Linked DNA regions of Homo sapiens: region 1 is linked to region 2. Evidence: promoter capture Hi-C in 16 types of primary human blood cells and fetal thymus (Javierre and others, 2016). All regions are on one chromosome and are shown on one strand. The core of a region is centred on a gene start or on the middle of the fragment in contact, and the rest is flanking DNA. Distances in the headings are between cores, read along the strand shown. Region 1 has its middle 75 kb from the start of MIR3156-1. Region 2 holds the start of ALOX5 (arachidonate 5-lipoxygenase).

The links. Contacts are between HindIII fragments. The CHiCAGO score rates a contact against its expected background, and 5 or more counts as called.
Region 1: a fragment that was not itself captured here is called in contact with the fragment with the promoter of ALOX5 in region 2 in 1 of 17 cell types (neutrophils); the score reaches 7.3 in neutrophils.

The regions. Positions count from the first base shown.
Region 1 is chr10:45,236,310-45,241,703 of GRCh38, reverse strand. It overlaps the pseudogene CUBNP2. Among named protein-coding and RNA genes, the nearest start is that of MIR3156-1, 75 kb to the right of the region's middle. The HindIII fragment of the contact is 2,299 bases long and covers 932-3,230 here.
Region 2 is chr10:45,371,863-45,377,186 of GRCh38, reverse strand. ALOX5 (arachidonate 5-lipoxygenase) reads right to left here and starts at 2,971. Exons shown (of 14, transcript NM_000698.5): 1 at 2,758-2,971. The coding sequence starts at 2,907. RefSeq lists enhancers at 1,984-2,592, 2,593-3,203. The HindIII fragment of the contact is 7,754 bases long and covers 1-5,324 here.

The DNA.
Region 1 (5,394 bases), core at 832-3,331, 130 kb after region 2:
ATGTGGAAAGGACTAACTGAGTCCAGCAGGGGTAGGGGTTCCTAACTCAGTCTGGGAACTAGAAAGCTTCTTTAAGAGGGCAATATGTAAGTTGAGACCTAAAAGGATCAGAGGAAAGTCTAAGAACAACAAGCTGATTCTGTAAAATGAAACTGAATGATACTAAATAGCTCACCTAATTTCCCTGACAGCTACAGTAAGTTTGGGGCATCGTCAACATCCTCTAAAGACAAGTGTTGCCTTGAAAAAGTGCTCCCTTGTTGCAGGAAGTGTGGTCTGTCCTTTTTCCACCACAACTCCAGAGCTCTCATTTGGACACAGAAGTGACTTTGCTGTTTGCCCATTCTCCACCCATTCACCCCCAACTCCCACCCCAGGACACACTGAGAGAGAAGCCCCCCTTGCACCTGGAGCAGGCAGAGCCATGCCCCTTGTGGGCCTGAACCTTTGGGGTCTTCCAGAGCCCCTGGTGAGCTCCCTCTGTGCTCTTTCTGCCACATCACCTGCATTGAGCATGTGAGATGGAACATGAATATCATTGCTCATAGGCAGGAAACGGTCTGAATAAGACTCATCTGATGCGGACCCAGTGTGTGGAACTCAGCACCTGTGTTTTGCCAGAAAACCCCCCAGAGCTCATGCGGTTGTGACCTTTGCAAGCTCTGTTGAAAATGCATTCATCCTTAGGAAATAAACTCAGGTGGAACCTGAGACTCAAAAGGATAAGGATGCTGAATTCCTCTGAGAGTGGAATTTAAATCTAAACCTCATCCCGATGCTCTCTAAACTGGCTTTGTTTCACCATACAAGAGGCTTCAGTAAGGTTTCCAAAAAGTTTGCTTGTTCCTCTACACCTGATCTGGAGTCGTATTTTTTGTTTTATTTTTTTTTCTCACTGCCTCTTTGATCAGGTCTTCATTCAAAATAAGCTTCCCAAGATGATTTGATCTTTGTAGCATAAACAAATGTACTGGTGTATGCAGCAGGCTTCTTTCCTTCTGTGGGAGGATTCTTTCCAGTGGGCTTCTGTTCAGCTGCTAGTTTCTTGGTAGCTGCAGCCTTTGTTCCCAACAAAACATCTTTTCTCACCTGCAACCCACCTCATCTGATTTGGCTTCTAGGGCTGCTGTCACCTTCTGCCCGGCCTGGTGAGGAAGGGTGTTCTGGCACATGGTCTTTGCCTATGGGTTTAGCTTCAACATGATTCTTGATGCAGTTTTATCATCCTGGAAAGCTCTCCCCTTTGGAATTCATCTAAATCCTTTATTAATCAATAGCCTTAACATGTAGTTTCATAAATAACACTCAGAGGAAGCTCATGCCTTTTCTAAAGGAATATTCCCATGACAGGAAACCAAAAGATGTATGTAGCAGGGAGGAAACGAAGAGACAAATACAGTATTCTTTGTGCCGGTCAGGTTACTCAACTTGGACCTACGTACCTCCCCCACCACGGAGATCCATATATTTATATGAAGTGTAAAGCAGAAAGAATGAGGAGAGTGGGATCTGGATGAAAGATGGAATAATCCCGTTAGGTTGGAGTCACAGTGCAACTAACTCTTAACTCACTCCAGCTTGAATGGACCATTATTGATCAGAGTCAACATTTGCCATTTGCCTGATAGATGCTGGGAAGCAAAGCCTTGCTTTCCAGCCATGGACAGTAAGAACTCTTCCTCCTCGCTGTCCTTCATTACTCCGTAGAATGGATCTGAAACTTCCTGTCCCATAAGCAAAGAAAGGAAACCACAGCTTAGGCCTGTAAAATGTAGCTCCGTCTGGCTCTCGGTGGGAAGACTGTGGGCATAGTTTATTGGCAGCTGGACCAGGAAGCCTCAGCATTCCATTCTTGTGAACTGCCGTAGGAACAGAAATGTCTGACTGAGGATTCTGTGTTACTACCAAGTGAGGGCCGAGCTCTAGACCATGCCTGGAATCTGCGATTGTTTTCATGCCTTCACCTCCCCTTCCAGGATCCTCTGATGTCGCAGGGATGCCCGCTGCTCTCGGTGGCCCCATTCCTCCTAGGAGACGAAAGTGAATAAGACAAGTTGTTGGCAGTGTCCGTGAAAATTAGTATCTCACTGCTCCTCTCAGAGCAACGCCATTTTAAAAGAGGACCCCTGGGTGAAAACACCCAAACTCAAGGGTATGGTGCTGGAAGGTCTTAAATATGGCAGCCCTCCTATCTACTAGTGGATAACTGGCTACTCTGTCATGGCAAGTCTACTTTATTTAAACACTTAGCAGAATAATCCCTGAAGCACTAGAAAGGCATTAGTCTCTCCCATGGGCTACTACATAGACCTAAAAGGAATCTCACCTGATCAACACAGCCCAGCAAGATTAGACTGTCTTAACTCTGTGACTTAAGATACCAGCAATTAACCAAATTTTAAATCATGGAATTACAAAGGGAAGAGAGGAACTTCCAGTGTTTTGAATACATGGATCAGTAAAATCAGCATTTCTACATGTCAGGCTGGTTCCAACATACATTGCCTGTGTAACGTTTCCTTTAGAAGCGTCGAGAGCCCTCCTGGAAGCAGGTCTAGTTGTGAATGCAGGGTAGGAGCCAGGCTGGGGGACAGAAAATGGTTGAATTCACAGTGTGGTTCTCTCTTCCCTCAAAACACCAACTCATTTCCTGTTTTTATATGTGTCTATTCAAAAATGAGGAGTTGAAACAAAAAAGCAACAAGGCCTCGGAATGTGTTTTTAAAACACGTTTAACAACAGTCAGAAGTTGTATAGATTTATAATTCTGTCCTTCACCCATACAGAAATTCCTTTTGTTCTGAACTTTATTATACTTTGCATTGTATTTTCTTCGTAGCCCCTTTACAGCCAAGTAATTTTCAATGGGAAACCCGTGTGCGCGCGCACTCATACACACACACACACACACTATGAAAAATGTATAATAGTTGACTGGAAACAGGGCAGGCAACATTGCCCCCACCCATCCCCACCCTTTAAAAATTCACTTTACCTACATTCTTCCAAATGTTTCCCCAAAAGCAAAGGCTGCAGGATCATAGCAAAAACTATTATATAAAAAAGCAGCCTGATGTTTTAATTGCTACAGGTTAACAGATATTTCTGAATCCAAATACAAATGTTTTTTGATCTACACATGGAACATTTTTCCCCTTTGCAAGTGAAGATGACTTCTGCATGTATTTTCAGAAAACCCTTCATTCTTATGTATATAAAAAGACAAAGCTTTTCCAAAAAGTGTCATCATTCAAATTGTCTCACAGTGTAATGTATATACATTGGAGAAGAAAGTGTAAGTTTAATAATGAATGACTCCTTCCTAAAGGTGAGAAATGGAAGTAACAGCAATTCACCATTACTTGGCAAGTACTCTGCTGCCAAACCCTGTCTTCTCTCAAAATAATGAACTATACCTATGATTTAAGAGTAATAGTGTAATTTCGGATCGTGGATATGAAATCATCTGGACCTCATCACCCTCTGGTAAGACATTTGTACTTTGTACGGGAAAGCAGTGTAGGTGAGTAAAACATAAGGTGTCTAATAGAAAAAGGCAAAGTAACCTTATATTTTTTAGCTACCTGTGTAACTGATTAATTCATGTTAAGAATAGAGATTTTTAACAATGAAGGTACAAATTATTTTGTTGTTGTTGTTGTTGAGATGGAGTCTTGCTCTGTCGCCCAGGCTGGAGTGCAGTGGCACGATCTCAGCTCACTGCAACCTCTGCCTCCTGGGTTCAAGTGATTCTCCCACCTCAGCCTCCCTAGTAGCTGAGATTACAGTTGCATGCCACCATGCCCAGCTAATTTTGTATTTTTAGTAGAGACGGGGTTCTGCCATGTTGGCCAGGCTGGTCTTGAGCTCCTGACCTCAGGTGATCTACCCGTGTCGGCCTCCCAAAGTGCTGGGATTACAGGCATGAGCCACTGCACCTGGCCAGATTACTTTAAATTCTACATTTATTCATTATTTCTGTTTATAAAATAATATATATTCATATATGAAGCACATATAAGGTATGAAGATTTAAAAATTCCTTTGTAAATTCAATTTTGTTAGACTTTTTGACTGTTGGTTTGACCATCAAGGAAGTTCATTGACAATTTAAGGAAAAATATTTACCAAAAATCCAACTTATGAACACATTCTGGCATATATATGAATGGTTGTGCTTCTCACAGGCCCTGACATTTGTTGGCAGTCCTGGAGAGAAATTGCTTTTTTAGGGTAGTAAGTATCCTCTCATATTTTTGGTTGGCCACTTTTCAAACAGCTAAAGAAAATTTAAGTCATGTCAATACATTTAATGCAAGAGAGGAGAAATACCTTTATGAAATGTCCTCAAATACCAACATACATTCCAAATAAAAAAAGATAAACAGAAATCACTTTAAATACCTTAAGAAAATGGTTCTATTAAGATAATCGTGGGTAATGGAATTTTGGCACCCAAAGGAAGACAAAGATGACTTCCAATGCTCAAATTTTATCGACGAGGAAATAAAACACCAAGATTAGGCTGGGTGTGGTGTCTCACGCCTATAATCCCTGGGAGGCCAAGGCAGCTGGATCACCTGAAGTCAGGAGTTCCACACCAGCCTAGACCACATGGTGAAACCCTGTCTCCACTAAAAATACAAAAATTAACTGGACATGGTAGTGCATGCCTATAATCCCAGCTACTTGGGAGGCTGAGACTGGAGAATCACTTGAACCTGGGAGATGGAGGCCGTAGTGACCTGAGATCACACCACAGCACTCCAGCCTGCGTGACAGAGCAAGATTCTATCTCAAAAAAACCCACCAAGATTAATGAGTTGCCCAAAATGCTCTGCTAGACTGAGGTGGAGATGGGACTAGACCTCGGTGGTCAAAGGCCCAGCCAGGTGCTCCGTAACTATGACAGCCAGCTTCTTCCTGTCCTGGAGGCGATCTGGATCTCCACAGATATGTAGTCTATATGTAGTCTAAATCATGACAGCCTTCATATACAGATTAACAAATTGAACAAATTAACACCAAAACTTGAAGTATTCGACCTTAAGTATGTCAGTTATTAGGGTGGTAAAGTTACTTTTATAATGAAGTCATTCCTGCCACCACCTACAATCACACACTTCCTCTTGGTTTAGTGCTGAATTTTCCTTCTAATTTTACTTCACTCACATCATTGGCATCAACTCAGGGTAAGCAAAGATCTCCGCACCATCGAAAGCACAGAGGCAACAACTTGATTTTCTCCCACAGTTACTTTATTAAGTTTTTGTTTGTTTGTTTTGTTTTGTTTTTGTTTGTTTGATTGTTTTCCATTCTGCTGTCAACCCCCGATTTTCAAAGTACAGTCCTGGAGGAAGTTGTCCTTGGATCGTGATATGCAGGCAAAGGCAT
Region 2 (5,324 bases), core at 1,722-4,221:
CTCACTGACTTAAGAAGCATGAATCATTATAACACTTTTCTACACTTGTTGAACATATTCAAGTATCATATATTAAACACCACGCTATTGCCCTTAGCTTTCTTAAAAGTACCAGCACAGAATGAAATGGGCCAACTAAGATTTCTCAGAAATCTTCAGATCTGTTACAGTTATCGTATCCGATCTGAATTACTTTAAATTTACAGAGTTAAAGAAATAAATCAACTTGTTAAATTTGCCTAGACTTGGGTTAGCCTCTGGAAACAGGGCCATTCTGTGTAGGATCCCGGCTTTCTCCAGCAGACAGTGAGGAGCCAAGGAAGACACAACCGTTTATAGGATAATCCCACCTGCGAAGGACTTGATTCCCAGTCCTGACTGAATCACTATGCGGAACTCTGATGAGAATAACAAGGGACCTGTGACTCACTTTATCAAGGAAAAAATCAGTCCTGTCCATTATTTGACTGAACTATGCCCTGGAGGAGGGGGGTGTTGACCTGCCAATAACTTGGAAATGATTAAATTGTGTGGAAATACCTTTATTGTTATTGTTATCGTTACTACTGTTAACAATACAGATTTTAACACTTTTCCCTGTAAAATGGGATAACCTTGTCTTCTCAGCAAGTACTTCCTCTAGGGTTTCTCTTTTACCTTTACCCAAAAAGGATGATTGTCTTTACAGATACCAAGCTGGGAGAATGAGGAAGTAGTTCTGGGCTGGGCAAGAGAAAGTGTTGAGTAACTTTGCATCAACAGGAACTTTCTCAAAAGCTGATTTTTTCAAGGAAACTTTCAGCCTTAGCTGGTTCCCCACCCTGCGGTAGCCCCCACCCCCAACCACCCCCCGCCCCACCCCTGACTTATAGCCCTCTCAACCCAATGGAAATGTGACATGCAAATCTCTCCTGAAATTTGCCCCTGGGATTCCGGCTGAGGTGTTTAATTATAATGTCATTTGAATGACTTCTCAGGGTAGGGGAAGACAGACCGAGAGAGGGAGATAGTGGACAAAACAGTGCCTTCACTCTTTGTCCGAAGAGCCCGCTATGGCCACGTTATCATGTCCCCTGCAGGAGGAAAGCACACACGGGGTGCCCGTGCTGTGCAGTGTGAGCACACCAATGGCCTGTGCTTCTAGAACCTTATGATGTGTGGAGGAGAATGGGGAGGAGGAAGCACTTACAAAGGGGAAGTAGCCTGTACCCTGTCCTTCTCCCCCAGGTGTGGGGAATCCATGAAATAATGGAAGTAAATGAAGGTGCGTCAGAAATGGCAGAGGGTGCCATCACCCTAAATGGACGACACATTAACTCCAGGGCACCGCAGTCCTCAGGGTCAGTTCCCCGACTGGGGCAACTAAGCAACTGAAGGTTGCTCTTGTACTCAACACCTAACTCTTCTTGAAGGGAGCTCAAGCCAGGATGCTAGTGAACTTGGCTGAGGGCCATGTCGTGCTACAGCGAGGGTATGGGCTCCTGGATAGGAATCGAGCCCATGGAGAGCTTGGAATCCAGAAAAAGAGTAGTTTTTACTTACTTTAGGCTCTGCACACCTAAAACACAAATTTTATCCAAGAGTAATCAGTTGAAACATGAACTTGCCGGTTGTATTTGTCCATTATGAGCAATTTCACAAGGTTTGATCAAATAATAAACTAAATGGTGAGAAGGCAGCTTGGTAAAGTCTAAATCTTTTTGGTCCAGTTAGGAGCTGGGGTGGGGTGGAAGGGAACTGATATTCCCTGCGCACCTGCAGTATGTCTGGGACTATTACCAGTCATTTACGGAGCGCTTCCTCTGTGCCAGGTACTGGATTAGGCACTTCATTAAAGGCTCAGTGAGAACTGCGACCTGCCCATGCTCATGGAAAAGAGTCGTGGGGCTGGAATTCAGGTCCAGATCAGCATTAGGAACTAGCTTCCAAATGCTGAGGGCTCCCTCGCGTCCTCACACCTAGCGTGGAAGTGTTCCCTGGTGTACATTCTGCTGGGAGGGAGTGCAGCCCCTCCATTTAGGAAAAGCCTCTCCTGGCCTGGGTTCTGTTCCTTCCCTTTAATTTCCTCTGGGGACTGTCCTGAGAATGTAAGCTGCCCAGGTGCCGTCTGAGCCACCAGATGGGCCTGGGCTCACCCATGACTCATGGACCAGACTGAAGCCAACCCTCCATTTTCAGCTGGGGAAACTGAGGCCCAGACAGACGGTAGAGTGAGCTGGTGGTCATGTCTGGACAGAACTCAGGCCTCTGGACCCGCTGACGTGCACCCTTCCCCACGGCTCACAGCTGGCTGCTCCGAGGTGCCCTCAGAGTTCTGTGAGCATGACTCATCTGCCTCTCCCTCCCTGTGCGACCTGCAGAAGGAGCCTAAGGAAGAGGTGGCACAAGAAACGCGGCCCAGTGAAGGGGGCTCCGGAGCCTCGGAGCCCAGATCTTGAAGTGGAGGGGAAACCTTGGGCCTTCTCCTCCCAGGGAAGACGCCTTGCAGGCGGCACGCGGGAAGTCTCCGTTTCCGACAGGGGTCGCGGCCGCCGCGAGGGGTCCTGGACGCTTGCCCACCAGGGTACCCACCGGCCACTGGGAGCCCAGGGCACGCCCCACCGCAGTTCTGCCCTCCCTGACAGGGTCCTGGACACCCCCAGTCCTGTCCGGGCCGCCCCGACGGGCCCTCGGCGCCCCCGCCCAGGCCTCTGCCGTCCAAACCGGGTCCCGGACGCACCTCAGCCCGCGCTCCACCCGTGCCCCGCCCGCGCTCACCGCGCCACGCTCGAAGTCGTTGTAGAAGGGCTTGTCCAGCAGGTGCTTCTCGCTGCAGCCCGCCGAGCCCACGAGGCTGAGGTAGATGTAGTCGTCAGTGCCGGCGAACCACTGGCTGCCAGTGGCCACGGTGACCGTGTAGGAGGGCATGGCGCGGGCCGCGGGAGCAGCGAGCGCCGGGAGCCTCGGCGCGGCGGTCCAGGTGTCCGCATCTAGCGCCGCAGCCTCCTCCCACCACTGGTCCCTGGCCCCGGTCCCGGCCCCGCCCCGGTCTGGCTCCAGGCTCCCGGCTGCCCCCGCCCCCGCCCCCGCCCCCGCCCCCGCCCCCGCAGTACTTCTCTCCCACTCTTCACGCGGCGCCGACTGGGCGGGACCTCGCCTCGGGCGGGGCAGGGGCCTCGCTCCTGGGTCTCTCCTCAGCGAGGTGTCTGTTCCTGCAGCCAGGGGACTGGGGCAACCTCGGCTGCCACCCCTCATCCATTCGTTCACTCGTTCTCTCCTGAATTGCTTCCACCCTTTGCCCTGCCTGCCTGCCTCGGCTTCGCCCAAGGCCAGGCTCCTGTAGGCCCTGGGGTGGAGCTGCGGGGACTCCCTACAAATCTAGGCACAGCCTCTGCTCTCCCCAAGTTCTCAGTGCCACTTGCGGTACTTGGAGCAGGGGTGCTCCGGGAGTCTGCAGAGGAAGAGCGACCCATGAGAGAATCAGAAGGGCTTCCTGGAGGAGGCCACCCCAGCGCTGATACTGAGGATGGATTCTGGAGCACAGAGGCTCCTTCAGCGCGGGCTTCTTCACTGGCTGGACCTGCGGCTCCTGGCGGGGGCAGGCGGGCGCCGAGACCGCGCCCAGGCCCAGAGATGGCCAGTGGTCGCGGGAGGCAGGCGGGACGGCACATCTGGACATGCGGGGCTGTCTAGGGGAGGCCAGGGGTCACGGGTCGGCTCTCTGAATCGCGGCGGGCAAATGCCTGGAAGGGTGTGGAGAAGGTTTCGCGCGCTCCTGGGCGGCTTCCCGCGGCTGGGGCCTGACCCCCAGGTTCCCGCCCACTCCTGGCGCCCGCCTCTCCCAGCCCCGCCGGCAGCGCAGGGTCTGACGGGCACACAGTCGCGTGTATTGATCTCGGCTAAGTTTAAACACTAGCTCACCGTGCGTGGGGCGGCGGGGATGTGAAGTCCCCAAAGGCGGCTGCCTACATTCTCACCAACGCTTCATGTCTGTGAAGCAGCAGAGTCCCTGTAGCATCTCCTCATACTGTCTTGGGTTTGTGCACCTGGCAAATGGCTTTGAACATCTTTTCACATGCTTGTTGGATATCTGTATATTTTTGGAGAGATGTATATTCAGATGCTTGACTCTTTGGAAAACTGGGCTATTTATCTTTTTTATCATTGAATTGCATTATTTATATATCCTGGATAGAAGTCTCTAATCGGATACATGACTTACAGACATTTTTATTGCTTCTGCGGGTTGTGTTTTCACTTTCTTGATGATGTTTGAAGCACAAAAGTATTTAACTTTAAGTCCAATTTCTTTTGTCGCTTGTGATTTTGGGGTCCTATCTGAGAAACCACTGCCTACAATAACATCTTAAAGATTTACTCCTAGGTTTTCCTCTAGGATTATTATAGTTTTAGCTTTTCATTTACATCCGTGACCCATTTTGAGTTAGTTTTTATGCATGGAGCGATAGAAGAATTCAAATTCATTGTGTTGCATGTGCATGTCCGGTTGTCCATGCATCATTTGTTGAATTCATTATTCTTTTCCCATTGCGTTGTCTTGACACCTTATTAAAAAGTAATTCATTATAAACATAACGGTTTATTTCTGGACATTGATTCTAGTCCACTGATCTGTAATGTACATGCTATACAGTGCCACACTGCTTGATTACCGCAGTGCTATAGTAAGTTTTGAAATTGGAAAATGTTAATCCACCAACGCTGTTCTTTATTTTTCAATATTGTTTTGGTTATTCTGGATCCTTTGAGATTCCATATAAATTATAGAATCAGCTTGTCAATTTCAGCCAAAAAGCAAGCTAGGATTTTGATAGGGGTTGAGTTGAAGCTGTAGATCAATTTGGGGAATATTGTCACTTTAACAATATTAAGTCTTCTGATCCATAGAATATGTTTCAGCTTATTTAAATCTTTTCTTTTCTTTTCGACTCTTTGGAGTCTCCCTCTGTTGCCCAGGCTAAAGTGCAGTGGTACAATCTCGGCACACTGCAACCTCTGCTTCCCAGGTTCAAGTGATCCATTTACTTAAATCTTTTCTGATTTATTTCAAAATATTTTGTAGTTTTCAGTGCACTTTTTATTTCTAAATAATTTATGTTTGATACTATTGTAAATGGAATTTTAATTCATTTTGAGATTGTTAATTGCTAGTATATAGAAAAACACTTGATTTTTGTACATTCATTTTATATTCTGCAAACTTGCTGAACTTGTTTATTAGTTCTAATGGTTTGTGTGTGTGTACATGTGCACATTTTCTATATGCAAGATCATGTCATGAGCGAGTAGAGATAGTTTTACTTCTTCTTTTATTTGGAAGCCTT